2 separate regions of the Homo sapiens genome follow, and region 1 is linked to region 2. Evidence: promoter capture Hi-C in 16 types of primary human blood cells and fetal thymus (Javierre and others, 2016). All regions are on one chromosome and are shown on one strand. The core of a region is centred on a gene start or on the middle of the fragment in contact, and the rest is flanking DNA. Distances in the headings are between cores, read along the strand shown.

Region 1 (6,423 bases), core at 1,595-4,094, 530 kb after region 2:
GCAAGAATTATTATCTGAGTTTGTATCCTTGCTAAATATCCTTTCTCTGATCCTAATAGCCTATACCAATGGTCCCAAACACCAAGTCTGCCCTTTGCTCTGTTATGTTCTACTGAATAGGATTTACCTCAACTCTTTTCAGAACAGCTTAGGGTCACTTCTGTATTCCAAACATCTTCACTGAACAGGGAGACTAAGTCCTGTCTGCAATCTAATACCCATGGCTTGCTCTGGAAACAGGCTGATCAATGGCTAACTGGGCAAGGCATGACTAAGGGGGTGCTCAATACCAGAAACTGCTAGGGAGTGGGTATGAGGAGCAGGGGAAAGCAAGCCTCCATGCGTGTGACCGTGGTCACCCACCAACACTGCTTACCGAGGGGCATGCCTTGGATGGTCTCTCTATAAGAAAATATGCCCCTTTCCACGGTGGATCTCTGCTCACCTTTGTCCTAAAACTGTGCCACATGCTTTTCTTTGTATGTGGACATGACAGTCCTCAGCCAACCATCAGCAGGATGTGAGTTTTGTTTTCACAATGTGGTGAGCCATTCCCACATTCACTCATTTTCCTTGTAAGAACCGAACCTCTCCATGGCTGGTCAGGATTAGGGATGTTGCTGTAGCCAAGGAAAAATTTTCATCTGTTGAAGTTAACCCACGGGGTGGCTTGAACCCTCAATCTAGAGTCAGTAGCACTGTACTTTAAGGGGAAAGTCCTTAAATCTACCCTGAAAGAAATGGCATTCAGTGAACAGGAATCAAACAGCTTTGTTTCAAAGCACTCAGTGATGTCCTATGCTTCAGCCAACTTGGTCTTATGAGGTAAAAAGTCAGGACACACTGATAGGACAGTACTAAAAAAACGGTAATTCTTGCTGTCTGCATAAAGTGCTTGGCAAACTGTAGAAAGACACTTCTGCAACCAACTCTAGTGCTCAGAAGAGGCCAACTCAGAGAAAAGCTTGTGAATGAGAACAGTGTAACTGCCCCGATTCCAAAGGTCTGCAACATTCCAGGGAACCAGCGTTCAGGCCCTCACAGAAGAATTAACCAATGTCACATTTACTGCTCAGGATCAGTGATTATGGTTGCAATTTGACTTTCCTGGCAACAGAGGGTTGTTTACAACCCACAACTAAAAGCTGCTACCACATGAAATGGGTTCCTGAGATCCTTTCCTTTCTTGAGACAGGAAGGAGGCTGCTCTGGGCATTGTGGCCTCTCTTTAGTCTCAGAGGAGGGAGGGCCATCAAGGCCACCTGGAGGAGGTGGATGACTTACCCGTGCTCACTGAGTGGCAGAGCTGGGGTGCGACTTCAGGGCTCACCATTACCCAGTCTGGGACTCTTTTCACGTCGGCAAACTGGCAGTTCCCGCACACCAAGGGCTCTCTGATTAGAGCTAGTGTGGATTCCTGGTCTGCAAACGTTGGCCACAGCTCAGTCTGCACTTGATCTTTCCCCACCTTCAAAGAAGAAAACCTACCTCATGATTTCTCTCTTCCGGATCCCTTGACCATCTAATTTGCTCCCAACACCTTTGTAATCACTTCTGACTATATCTTATTGGTTACCCACTGGGTCTACTGCCAAGTTCTGCAGTTTTCTCATTTGCTGGGCCTTCAGGGCTGTCTCTACCATTTGGATTAATTTATGTAATTCTAGGCTAGAGCTATTTTTACTTAGTCAACTTGTCTTTTGCATTGTGTCAGGAAAAGTCAGCTACTAAATCATTTTTTTGTTTAGAAGTCTATAACGACTCCTAAGTATCTTTATGTCACTCTCTAAACCTGGAACACCTTGACTACACAAGTTGAATTATATCAATCTTCTTCCATATGCTTGAGAATTACCTCTTTCATGAAGCCTCAGAAACTTGCCTATTCCAATTATTTTAGGACTTTCTTTAGCTTTAGCACTTCTATTCAATTTTACGCTTTTTGTTTTTGTTTTTTTGAGATGGAGTCTCGCTCTGTTGCCCAGGCTGGAGTGCAAAGGCACAATCTTGGCTCACTGCAGCCTCCACCTCCCAGGTTCAAGCAGTTCTCCTGCCTCAGCCTCTTGAATAGCTGGAATTACAGGCACACGCCACCACGCCCAGCTAATTTTTATATTTTTAGTGGAGACGGGGTTTCACCATGTTGGTCAGGCTTGTCTCAAACTCCTGACCTTGTGATATGGCCGCCTCAGCCTCCCAAAGTGCTGGGATTACAGGCGTGAGCCACTGTGCCCAGTCATGTTTCTGTAGCTTTTTAAGTCTTGTTTTTGTCTTTGTGCTTACCTTCTCTTTTGATTATGAGCTCTTCACTAAGAAAAACGAAGGCTAATATCTGTTGGCTATTTAGCACAGTGCCTGGCACAGTAAATAATTTATCCATAATATTTCATCCATTTGTATATCAAATGTGAAGAATGTATTATTATTCTTCTCATTTTACAATGAGAAACTGAGGCTTGGAGTAAGCAACTTGCTCATTTTCAAGGAGCTCATGAGTGAAGGAGCTAGATTTGAACCCAGACCCATGACTCTAAAAATCCCAGCTCTAAACCACAAGGTTCTAATTCCTTTTTTTTTTTTTTTTTAAAAAAAACATAGTCTCGCTCTGTCGCGCAGGCTGCAGCGCAGCGGCGCGATCTCCACTCACTGCAACCTCTGACCCTGGGCTCAAGCAATTCTTGTACCTCAGCCTTTAGAGTGGCTGGGACTACAGGTGTGCACCACCATGCCCGGCAAATTTTTTGTAATTTTTTTTTTTTTTTTTTTAGGAGAGACAGGGTTTCACCATGTTGCCCAGGGTGGTCTCGAACTCCTGAGCTCAGGCAATCCACCTGCCTTGGCCTCCCAAAGTGCTAGAATTACAGGCATGAGCCACCATGCCCGGCCTTCTACTGTATTTTAAAGGCAGATGCTTCTCTTCCAGTCCTGTGTACAATCTTTTTTCACTCAATAAATGCTGCTGCTTGACTTAATGATACTCTAACATCAGATAAAGTCAGGCTGTAGTAAAGGTTTTTGATATAATGGGGTAAAGTCTCTAGAGAAAAAAGAAATTGACCTTGGGGCAGGGTGAAGCACCTCTAAGCTGGGGGTATGTGACAACCAGGTTACTTTCACTCGTCTTTTGGTTCCCATTAGCCAGTGTCAGCCATCTGGTCCTTCCGAAAACATGTGTGGGTTCAGAACATAACAGACTAGAAGAATAGAGGAAAAATAAGATTATTCTGTGCAATCCCCATTCTGGAGGTCCCATATCAACCCCCGGAGTCTGTCTTTGCTTCTAAGGCTCAGCAAAAATTAGACCAGCATAAAGAAGATGAAGACTTGGATCTAGACGTGGTGGATGTGAATGAATATTGGCAATATTATGTATTTAGGAATGTATTTAATTAGTTTTGCAAGGAATGGTGACTTGAACCAAAAAATATAAGCGTGAATGGTAGGAGGGAAATGGGCCAGAAATCAAAGAATACTAGAAAGTTTACAGACTTTCAACTATACAAAGGTTAAAGCAGCAACCAGAAAAGTACCATGCAGATGATAAACATCTAAGATGTGATTTAATTTTCATTAACTAAAAACTATTTTTAACATGCAGCCCACTAGGACTCTTCTTCACATTTCTTTGTAATAATTACTACTCCTATTTTTGAAAGTTTTACGATGTATAAAGCATTATGCTAAGTGCTTTACACACATTATATCCATTTAATTTTCACAACTCTGAGGTTTACTGTCATCTGACAGATCAAGAAACTAACTTAGAGGAGTTGAGTAACTTGCCAAGACTATCCCAAAGACCTGGGATTCTTCACACCCAGCTAACCTAAAACCTGCATTCTACCACCACGTTTTAACCGCCTCCTATATACCAATGAAAAGTGGTCCATAAAACCAGAGTTGGAGAAACACAAGCTCTTGCACAGAAAATCAGTTTCATCAAATTATGTGCTGTAGTGTGGAAGACAAATGCCCACAGGAATATAAGCATCTTATGAGAAAGAGTAAGTGGCAAGAAAACACCATTTCTGCATGTGATGTGTGTGTGCTAATACCAGTAAGTTGTGAACATTTATTCTCTACAAGTGGAACCAAACCCATATGCCATCAAAATTTTAATACTAGTCTAGGAAAATAGAAAAAGGTAACAAATCATTAAGAAACTTATATCTCAGCAATGAGAACACAAATATATCAGTGGGAAAATTAAACTCATGATCCTTTCTCATAAAGTAAACCAACTGCTGAAAAAAAATCTCTAATGATGAACTAACCAAACTCAAGCCCATGGTATTGAGTCCACATTGCAGATAACAGCCCATCTCTAACAGAATATATATTCACATAGTAGGGTGAGAAAAACAGAACAATCATTATCCTAAACACCAAACAGTAAAACTAAATCCTCCCAGAATGGGAGGTAGAGAGGAATCTGCATCAAATATGAATTTAGTCTTACTCTGTAACTACTCTATGAGCCTATTTGCCAACTTTGTTTTAGCTATTCAAAACTTTCAAAAATGAACTAAGTCAGCTAAGGTATTTCACTTTTACACTGCAAATAGTTTGTGGATCAAACTATCATTACCCCCTGCAATCATAACTGAACTTTCTTTTTTGATATTTTAAAGTCAACATGGCTTTCCTGAAAGGGAGGGCAGATACAATCATCTGTGTCCATTTCAATTTTCTGACACTTTTCAACACTAAGGATAAATGAAATTGAAAGCTTTCAAAAAAGGGGAATCAACTATTGCCTGATGACAAGAAGTTCGTGAAGACTCAACCACAAATTAAAAACGATTTGAAAAAACTCGAGAGATGAAAGTCACATTACCAATTTAGAATAAAACTCTTGGGATTTAATATAGAATTACTTTATCTGTTATTCCTACTTAAAGAAATAAAGGTTTACACTCTGCAGACAGCACTACCTGATTCCACACAAAAGCTACAAACAAAACCAGTTCATACTTACCTCTTAAACAACACAATGAGCAGGCTGCCAGGTGTTAAAGCTTCATTAAAGATGATGCCTCTTGGATCATCTTGGCTGTATGAGGCACCATGTCCCTCATAATCGCCCCTGGTCCCTGGGCTGGAGTCTGTTTCTTCATTTTCATTTTTGGTTAAAGATGCCACTCCCTATGCTTTTATTAATTAGTGGATGCCACTAATTAAGTATTTTAATGAATTTTTCAAATTCTTTTAAAATGGATGGATCAATAGCTTCATTTCAATTACATGAAAACCTTTCCAAGTCCATGTTTCTGGTCTGTGGTTCCTGACTCCCTTGCCTGAGCCTCCTGCTCTGTCTGCCCTCTTCATTCCTGAAGGCTGAATTCAAACCTCCCTCTTTCAGACTTCCTCTTCTCTCTAGGTCTTGGGGGTCTTTGTTCATGAAGGTCCCCTTTCTGGCATAAAAACCTAAACCCATGGTTGGGGACCTGGGAGAAATAAAGTGCCTTTCAAGCGCTTCTTCAGACATTGCGTGCAGTTCAGAAATCTTTAGCCTGGGAGACTTTCATCTCAACACACAGAAAACTCAAGTAAAACATTTCCTCAAACTATGGGCATACAAATTCAGAGCATAATCTAATCCCTCACCTTCAGGGTACTATAAGACCAGACGGCCCTAGGAATGACAATAAGGCAGAGAACATTTACTTGTACAAATCCTTCCTCAGCCAACCACGATAAAGCTGATACCACCTTACAGCTTTTCAAAGAGTAGCCTGAGGAGGAGAATCACTAGCAGTCTCCAACTAAGGACAACATCATAAAAAATACCATCTGTCTCACTTTTGGCAGTAACTTGTCAGCTTGCTGGAAGCCTCTACAGAGACTAAAGGCTGAACAAGCCCGGAAACCTGAACTACCCTCTCACCCTCAGAGGCAATCCCCAAAGGACAGGACTAAAGGAAATAGCATGAGGGAAGCTTTGAATGTCAATGCCCACATGTATCTAGTATGGGAATTTAAAAAATCTTCTATTTCCGGAGTTGTCAATAACTCATTTTGTAACCTTGGGCCAGTCACCTTATCACCCCATGCCTCAGTTTCCCCATCAGTACAAACTAGGGACAACACTTGTTCATAAAGTACTTTGACATACTCAGTTGAAAAATAAGTCATACAAATGCATTAATATTTTCGGAAGTTTTAAGATTTCAGTGTTAGCTTACAAATTTGTAAGTATCACCCCAACGGTATTCTCTCAGATGCCTGGAGCACCTTTCTTCTGAGGAGCTCAAAGTAAAATTTGCGGTTCTGGGTACCTGGAAGCATAAAAAAATACTAGAAACCCAAACCACATTTTATTACCGAGTCTATATCCTGTGCCTATCTTTTAAGAAGGGACAAATACTTCGTATGGCCCTTAAATTCATACAGTACCTCAATGAGAAAGGAGGAGCAAAACAG
Region 2 (6,818 bases), core at 3,508-6,007:
CTCCCGAGTAGCTGTGATTACAGGCATGCATCACCACGCCCAGCTAATTTTGTATTTTTAGTAGAGATGGGGTTTCTCCATGTTGGTCAGGCTGGTCTCGAACTCCCAACCTCAGGTGATCCGCCCACCTCGGCCTCCCAAAGTGCTGGGATTACAGGCATAAGCCACCGCGCCCGGCCTAATTTTTTTTTTTTTTTTTGAGACAGAGTCTCACTCTGTCACCCAGGCTGGAGTGGCGCAATATCGGCTCACTGCAGCCTCTGCCTCCCGGGTTCCAGCGATTGTCCTGCCTTAGCCTCCCAGGTAGCCGGGATTATAAGCACACGCCACTATGTCCAGCTGATTTTTATATTTTTAGTAGAGACGGGGTTTTACCATGTTGGCCAGGCTGGTCTCGAACTCCTGACCTCAGGTGATCTGCCCACATCAGCCTCCCAAAGTGCTAGGATTACAGGCATGAGCCACCTCACCTGGCCTATTTTTTTTTTTTTTTTTTTTTTGAGACAGAGCCTTGCTCTGTCACCCGGGCTGCAGTGCAGTGGCACAATCTCTGCTCACTGCAAGCTCCACCTCCCGGGTTCACGCCATTCTCCTGCCTCAGCCTCCCAAGTAGCTGCGACTATAGGCGCCCGTGCCCAGCTAATTTTTTTTGTATTGTTAGTAGAGACGGGGTTTCACCGTGGTCTCGATCTCCTGACCTCGTGATCCGCCCACCTCGGCCTCCCAAAGTGCTGGGATTACCGGCGTGAGCCACCACGCCCGGCTGGCCTATTTTAATTTTTTAAGACAGAATCTTGCTCTATTGCCCAGGCTGGAGTGCAGTGGTGTGATCTCGGCTCACTGCAACTTCCACCTCCCACCTTCTGGGAGGCCGAGGCAGGCAGATCATCTGAGGTCAGGAGTTCGAGACAAGCCTGGCCAACATGGTGAAACCCGTCTCTACTAAAAATACAAAAATTAGCCAGGCATGGTGGCGCATGCCTGTAATCCCAGCTACATGGGAGGCTGAGGCAGGAGAATCGCTTGAACCCGGGAGGTGAAAGTTGGAGTGAGCCAAGATTGCACCACTGCTCTCCAGCCTGGGTAACAAGAGTGAAAGAGCGAAACTCCGTCTCACAAAAAAAAAAAAAAAGGTAATATGTCCTTTTGTCCTTTGTTCCTATCGGCTCTAATTATAATGCAATGATTTTCTGATCGGGTATTTTGAAGTCCTATTATAATAAGTCAACGCTAGAGCCACAAATGAAATGAAGTACATTTTGCAAGTATAGGTAAGGATGTTAACTCAGGAATAAATTATCATTAATTAAACCATCAAGTACTTTGAAGTGGTGACATGGGCATCGGTATGCTTTCCCTTATAAGTTGGTATAAGTTAGTTTTGATCATTTATATATAATAGGCGCTTGCAAATAGTACAGGCTAACCCTGGGGAAAAAATAGTAGTTTTAACTAAGCCCAATTCCCCCAAACATCTAGTTCATGATATAATTAACTGGAAAATCAATCAAATTTAAGCCCTTGTTTTTCAAATTACTTTTTTTTTTTTTCAGACAGAGTCTCATTCTGTTGTCCAGGCTGGAGTACAGTGACACAATCTCGGCTCATTGAACCTCCACCTCCAGGATTCAAGTGATTCTCTCCCACCTCAGCCTCCAGAGTAGCTGGGACTACAGGCATGTGCCACCATGCCCAGCTAATTTTTGTATGTTTAGTAGAGACGGGGTTTTGCCATGTTGGCCAGGCGGGTCTCGAACTCCTGATCTCAGGTGACCCGCCCGCCTTGGCCTCCCAAAGTGCTGGGATTACAGGTGTGAGCCATCATGCCCAGTCCAAATTAGTCTTTCTTGGCCTCCTAAATCTAAAATTAAATGTCTTTCTACATTGCAAGGAAAAGCTCTACAAAGTTCCCGTTTTTCTATCTTGAATAATCTATGCTTCTGTGAAAACAGAATTTAGTTCTCAAATGCCACAATACATAAGTACCCTAATATGTTATAGTCCTTGACATTTAGAGGAGCCTTAAGAAGGAGGAGATGCTTTCATTCAATTATATGTTTTGTATAACGATTACTTCTATTTTGCTGATGGACAAACTGAGAGGAATCCACTTAGAAGAGTAGAAAAAAGTTTTAGAGGCACATGTAACTGGGGTTGGGTCACTGTGTGATTTCAGGCAAAGTAACCTCTCTAAACCTATTTCATTATCTGTACAACGGGACTGACAATATCTAACTTGTGGGGCTGTGATAATTAAATCATAGAATACTCGATAGTGCATAAGCTGTGCCTCGTTAGTCTGAGTAGGTTTCAGAAAAAGATATTAATATTGAAGGAAGTGACTGGTGCAAGTCTCCCCACCATCCTTATCCAAAAGCAGCCATCCCTAGTAAATGTTTGCACTAAAAATACAGGACACACTTATTTATGACTTTCCAAACAGCTTATTAAATAAATAAATAACACTGAGCTTTATTTAAAGGTTCCAGCCAGGTGCAGTGGCTCATGCCTATAAGAACATTTTGGGAGGCCAAGGCGGGAGAATCATTTGAGGCCAAGAATTCAACAGCAGCCTAGGCAACACAGCCAAACACTGTCTCTACAAAAAAACTTAAAAATTAGCTGGGTGTAGTGGCTCATACCTGCAGTCCCAGGAGGCTGAGGCAGGAGGAGTGCTTGAGCCCAAGAATATAGGTTGCAGTGAACTATGATTATGCCACTGCACTCCAATATGGGCAACAGAACAGGACCCTGTCTCAAAAACACAAAAATAAAAATAAAGGTTTCCTTACTATTAAGTGACATTTACTGTATTAATGTCAATACAGTAACAACACTCAAATTATCAGAAACTGTAAAAATTTCCAGTTTTTACTGGAAATAAAAACTGGGCCGGGCGCAGTGGCTCATTTCTATAATCCCAGCACTTCGGGAGGCTGAGGCGGGCGGATCACTTGAGATCAGGAGTTCGAAACACAGCCTGGCCAACATGGCAAAAACCTGTCTCTACTAAAAATACAAAAAGTAGCCGGGCATTGTGGCACACACCTGTAATTCCAGCTACTTGAGAGGCTGAGGCAGGAGAATCGTTTGAACTGGGGAAGCAGAGATTGCAGTGAGCCGAGATCGTGCCACTGCACTCCAGCCTGGGTGACTCTGTCTCAAAAAAACAAAACAAAACAAAACAAAAACAAAAACTGCAAGGGGGGTGAGGTGACTCATGCCTGTAATCCCAGCACTTTGGGAGGCCAAGGTGGGAGGATCACTTGAGCTTAGGAGTTTGAGACCAGCCTGGGCAATATAGTGAGACCCTGTTTCTACAAAAAATTTAAAAATTAGCAGGGCGTGGTGGCACACGCCCGTAGTTCCAGCTACTCAGGAGGTATAGGTGGGAAGACTGCTTGAGCCTAGGAGGTTGGAGGTGCACGGGGCCAAGACTGAGCCGCTGCACTTCAGACTGGGCGACAGAGAGAGAACCTGTCTCAAAAAAAAAAAAAAAAAAAAAATTCCCTCCTGAGTTTGAAGATAAAGCAAAGATTCTAGAAGCATTTAAGGAACATTAACCAAGCATCTCATTTGCTACGCACAGAAGGGTACTGTATTAAAATTATGATCTAACTAACCATTGCCTCACTGTAATCCTAAGCCTCTTTGAACCTTAGCCTTCTTAAATGTAAAATAGGAGTTTTTAAAAGATGATCTTTTGGGACTCTTCCATCACTGACATTCTTTTATTTGAGATGCAGAGATCTGTGCTCATTCAGGGTTGAGTGGAATGGGATTTAAAGCACTTATCAAGTACATAACTGAGTTCCAACTGTTTTCAACTTCACATCTGATTCCCAAGAATGAAGCAGAAAATGAAGATGTTTGCATATGGGCTTCCTAGATTGAGTATCTGACACAAGAAAAGCTTGCCAAGAGCCAAGTAGGCAGTGCGAAGGAGAAGTTGTCTTCCCCTGAATACGTCCTTTATCTCTCTGGGTTCAGGGAATACTGTGAAAAAATGGATCACTAAATCTTTTCCAAACCCTTTCCCTTTACTTTGTAGGCTGATCTCATATCCATGGTCCCTTAGATCCAAGGCTTTTAGGAGCTTGGGTACTCACAGCCCTGTTCCGAGACTCAGGAACTCGGAGTCTCAAAGCCCGGATCCCGTCCCCAAAGAAGCCCCAGTCTTCACTGCCCGCTTCTGTTCCCTTCCAAACTCAAGTTTTCTCTGTCTGCTTCTGCCCCTCAGGAACCTAAGTCTTCGCTGCCCCGTTTCTGAATCCTTAGGAGCCCGGGTCTTCACTGTCCCGCTTCTGCCTCTTAGGAGCCCAAGTCCTCACCGCTCCACTTTTACCTCTCCGGAGCCTGTGTCTTCACGCCCCGTTCCTTTCTGACCCTTTCCTCGTAGGAGTGCGGGTCCTCATAATCCTGCTCCTCTCAGACCACTTTCCCTCAGATGCCGGAGAACTCGCATCCGTCCCCGTTCCCTAAGTCCCGTCTTAGAGCCCGGGTCCCCACAGCCGCGTCTTCTCCGAGCCTGATCCTCTCAGTCAGTCCCTTCCCAAGAGCCTGAATCCTCACAGCCCCGTCTCGTCCACAACCTGGTCCTTCGAACACTGACCCACTGTAGGTCTGGGTCCTGACTCCCTCCTCCCGCTCTTGTTCCTCAACTGCCAGGGCCCAAGACTCACAGGCAGCAGCGTCTATCTCCCCATGATATGCAGAGACTGCCCCAGTGAAGCGTTCGTCTCAGCAGCCGGTCCGACTGCGCGGCCCTCCCCGACTACTTCCGGCACCGCTCCCCGCCTCCAACCCGGAAACGCGCGGCTCTTCCGGCCGGCGGGCGCGCGCCTCGCTTGCGCAGGCGCAGACTGCCCTCCGACACGTGGTGGCGATATTGAGCTGTGTGTAGGTACACCCTGCAGCTTGCGCTTTTAACTGCTTGTGGTTGAGTGGCAGCATGAGCGAGCTCTGCGTATTCCAACCCGGCGTTAAGAATCCTTCACTAGCTTTTCTTCCCGACGCTGCTTATTTATCTATCGGTAGCATGACGGGTAATTGACGCCCTCGGATGGCTTTGAGGTCGCCATTTTTGGTTGGTGCCTTTGTCTTGGTGTCAGGACTGGGATATCATCTGGGACACATTACCCCACAGGTATCCTGTTGGACCTCAACGAGGAAGTTGGCAACAGAGGAACCAGGAGATGAGAGAGATCGGTTGGTTGTGCCTGTGAACTGGCAATTCAGTAGTAACAATTGAGTGCTTACTGTTTGCCGGGAATTGTGCTAATCCGCTTACCTCCGTTACGCCATTTAATCATTTAGAGGAGACCTGTGAGAGATTAAGCAAAGTTCTAGCTAATAAGTGCAGAGCCTCAGCTTGAACTCAGAACTCACTACTAAGCCAAAGCCTGTCCTGTAGCATTCTCTAATGCTTTCAGTTTTTCGGCTGTCAGATGCTTGGTGAGAACTGCTGTTATGTGGCTCACGCCTGTAATCCCAGCACTTTGGGAGGCCGAGGAGGGTGGATCACGAGGTCAAGAGTTCAAGACCAGTCTGGCCAAGATGGTGAAACCCCGTCTCTACTAAAAATACAAAAAATTAGCCGGGCGTGGTGGCATGCGCCTGTAATCGCAGCTACTCCGGAGGCTGACGCAGAGAACTGCTTAAACCTGGAGGGGCGGAGGTTGCAGTGAGCCGAGATCGCGCCACTGCACTCCAGCCTGGGCGACAGAGCGAGACTCTGTCTCAAAAAAAAAAAAAAGAGAACAGCTGTTATTTTTTACTGTATGCTGGAATGTTAGGCATGCAAGTAAGACCCAATTCCAGCATCTGTAAGGTTCACAGTAAGATGGAGAAGAACCCACAAACACACCAAAAATTGTATAAAGAGCTGTGACAGGCCAGAGTGAGCCACATAGAAATTAGGAAGAGGTGCCCAGATTGGTGCGGCATCCTGCCCTGTCTTTATATCTTCCTAATCCTCATCCTACCACGTTCCCAGTCCACCCTCTACACTGCCACCCAATCCAAATTCTCAGATTCAAGTCCTCATGAACATTGGGCTCTAAGCTGTATTCCTAGCCTTATTTCCTTGCCACTGCTCTCCATTCTTTTTAGGGTCCGGCATACCACTTTTTGTTGTTGAATGCCTATACATCTTTTTTAAGACCCAGGTTGAATGTATATACGTTCATTTGACAAGTGTTTGAGTCTCATTGTGTGACAAGCCTTTTGCTATGTGCTGAGTACATAACTGGTGGCTAAGACGGATGATCTCTGTCCTTAGAAAGTTTGCAACCTAGAGTGGGAAACAGACCATTAGCAACTGCACAAAAGGGTGATAGAAGAGAATACTGGAATAAGCCAGACTTATCTAGCTGGCTGATGGCCTGAGCCATGGTCTTCAGTAAGGAAAACACTTACTCAAGGACCAAGATGGCCAAGGTGGCTGGAGCTTTGGTAACCGGGAAAGACAATGAGTTTGGAGAGGTAGGCAGGGGTTTGTTATAGTCTGGACCTTTTAGCCTAGACTATGATGGGGACTTGAGATTATATTCAGTATGCAATGGGAAGGTGTTGGAAGAACGGTGAAATTATGGCGATTGTTAAATGATACAGGGTCTCACTCTGTCACCAGGGCTAGAGTGCAGTGGCACAATCATAGTTCACTACAGCCTCAAACTCCTGTGTTCAAGCGATCCTCCTCCACCTCAGCTTCCCAAGTAGATGAATTTTCTTTTTTTTTTTTTTGAGACGGAGTCTCGCTGTTTCACCCAGGCCGGACTGCAGTGGAGCTATCTCGGCTCACTGCAAGTTCCGCCTCC

Evidence for each region. Contacts are between HindIII fragments. The CHiCAGO score rates a contact against its expected background, and 5 or more counts as called.
Region 1: a fragment that was not itself captured here is called in contact with the fragment with the promoter of TAF12 in region 2 in 1 of 17 cell types (neutrophils); the score reaches 6.0 in neutrophils.

Annotation. Positions count from the first base shown.
Region 1 is chr1:29,165,445-29,171,867 of GRCh38, forward strand. The region is part of intron 1 of SRSF4 (serine and arginine rich splicing factor 4); the gene reads right to left. It also overlaps a transcript of MECR not described here. Among named protein-coding and RNA genes, the nearest start is that of SRSF4, 13 kb to the right of the region's middle. The HindIII fragment of the contact is 3,765 bases long and covers 963-4,727 here.
Region 2 is chr1:28,638,310-28,645,127 of GRCh38, forward strand. It overlaps TAF12 (TATA-box binding protein associated factor 12), which reads right to left and starts at 4,758. Exons shown (of 6, transcript NM_005644.4): 1 at 4,683-4,758. TAF12-DT (TAF12 divergent transcript) reads left to right here and starts at 4,947. Exons shown (of 2, transcript NR_146730.1): 1 at 4,947-5,454. RefSeq lists a silencer at 6,308-6,602 and an enhancer at 6,810-6,818. The HindIII fragment of the contact is 14,626 bases long and covers 3,912-6,818 here.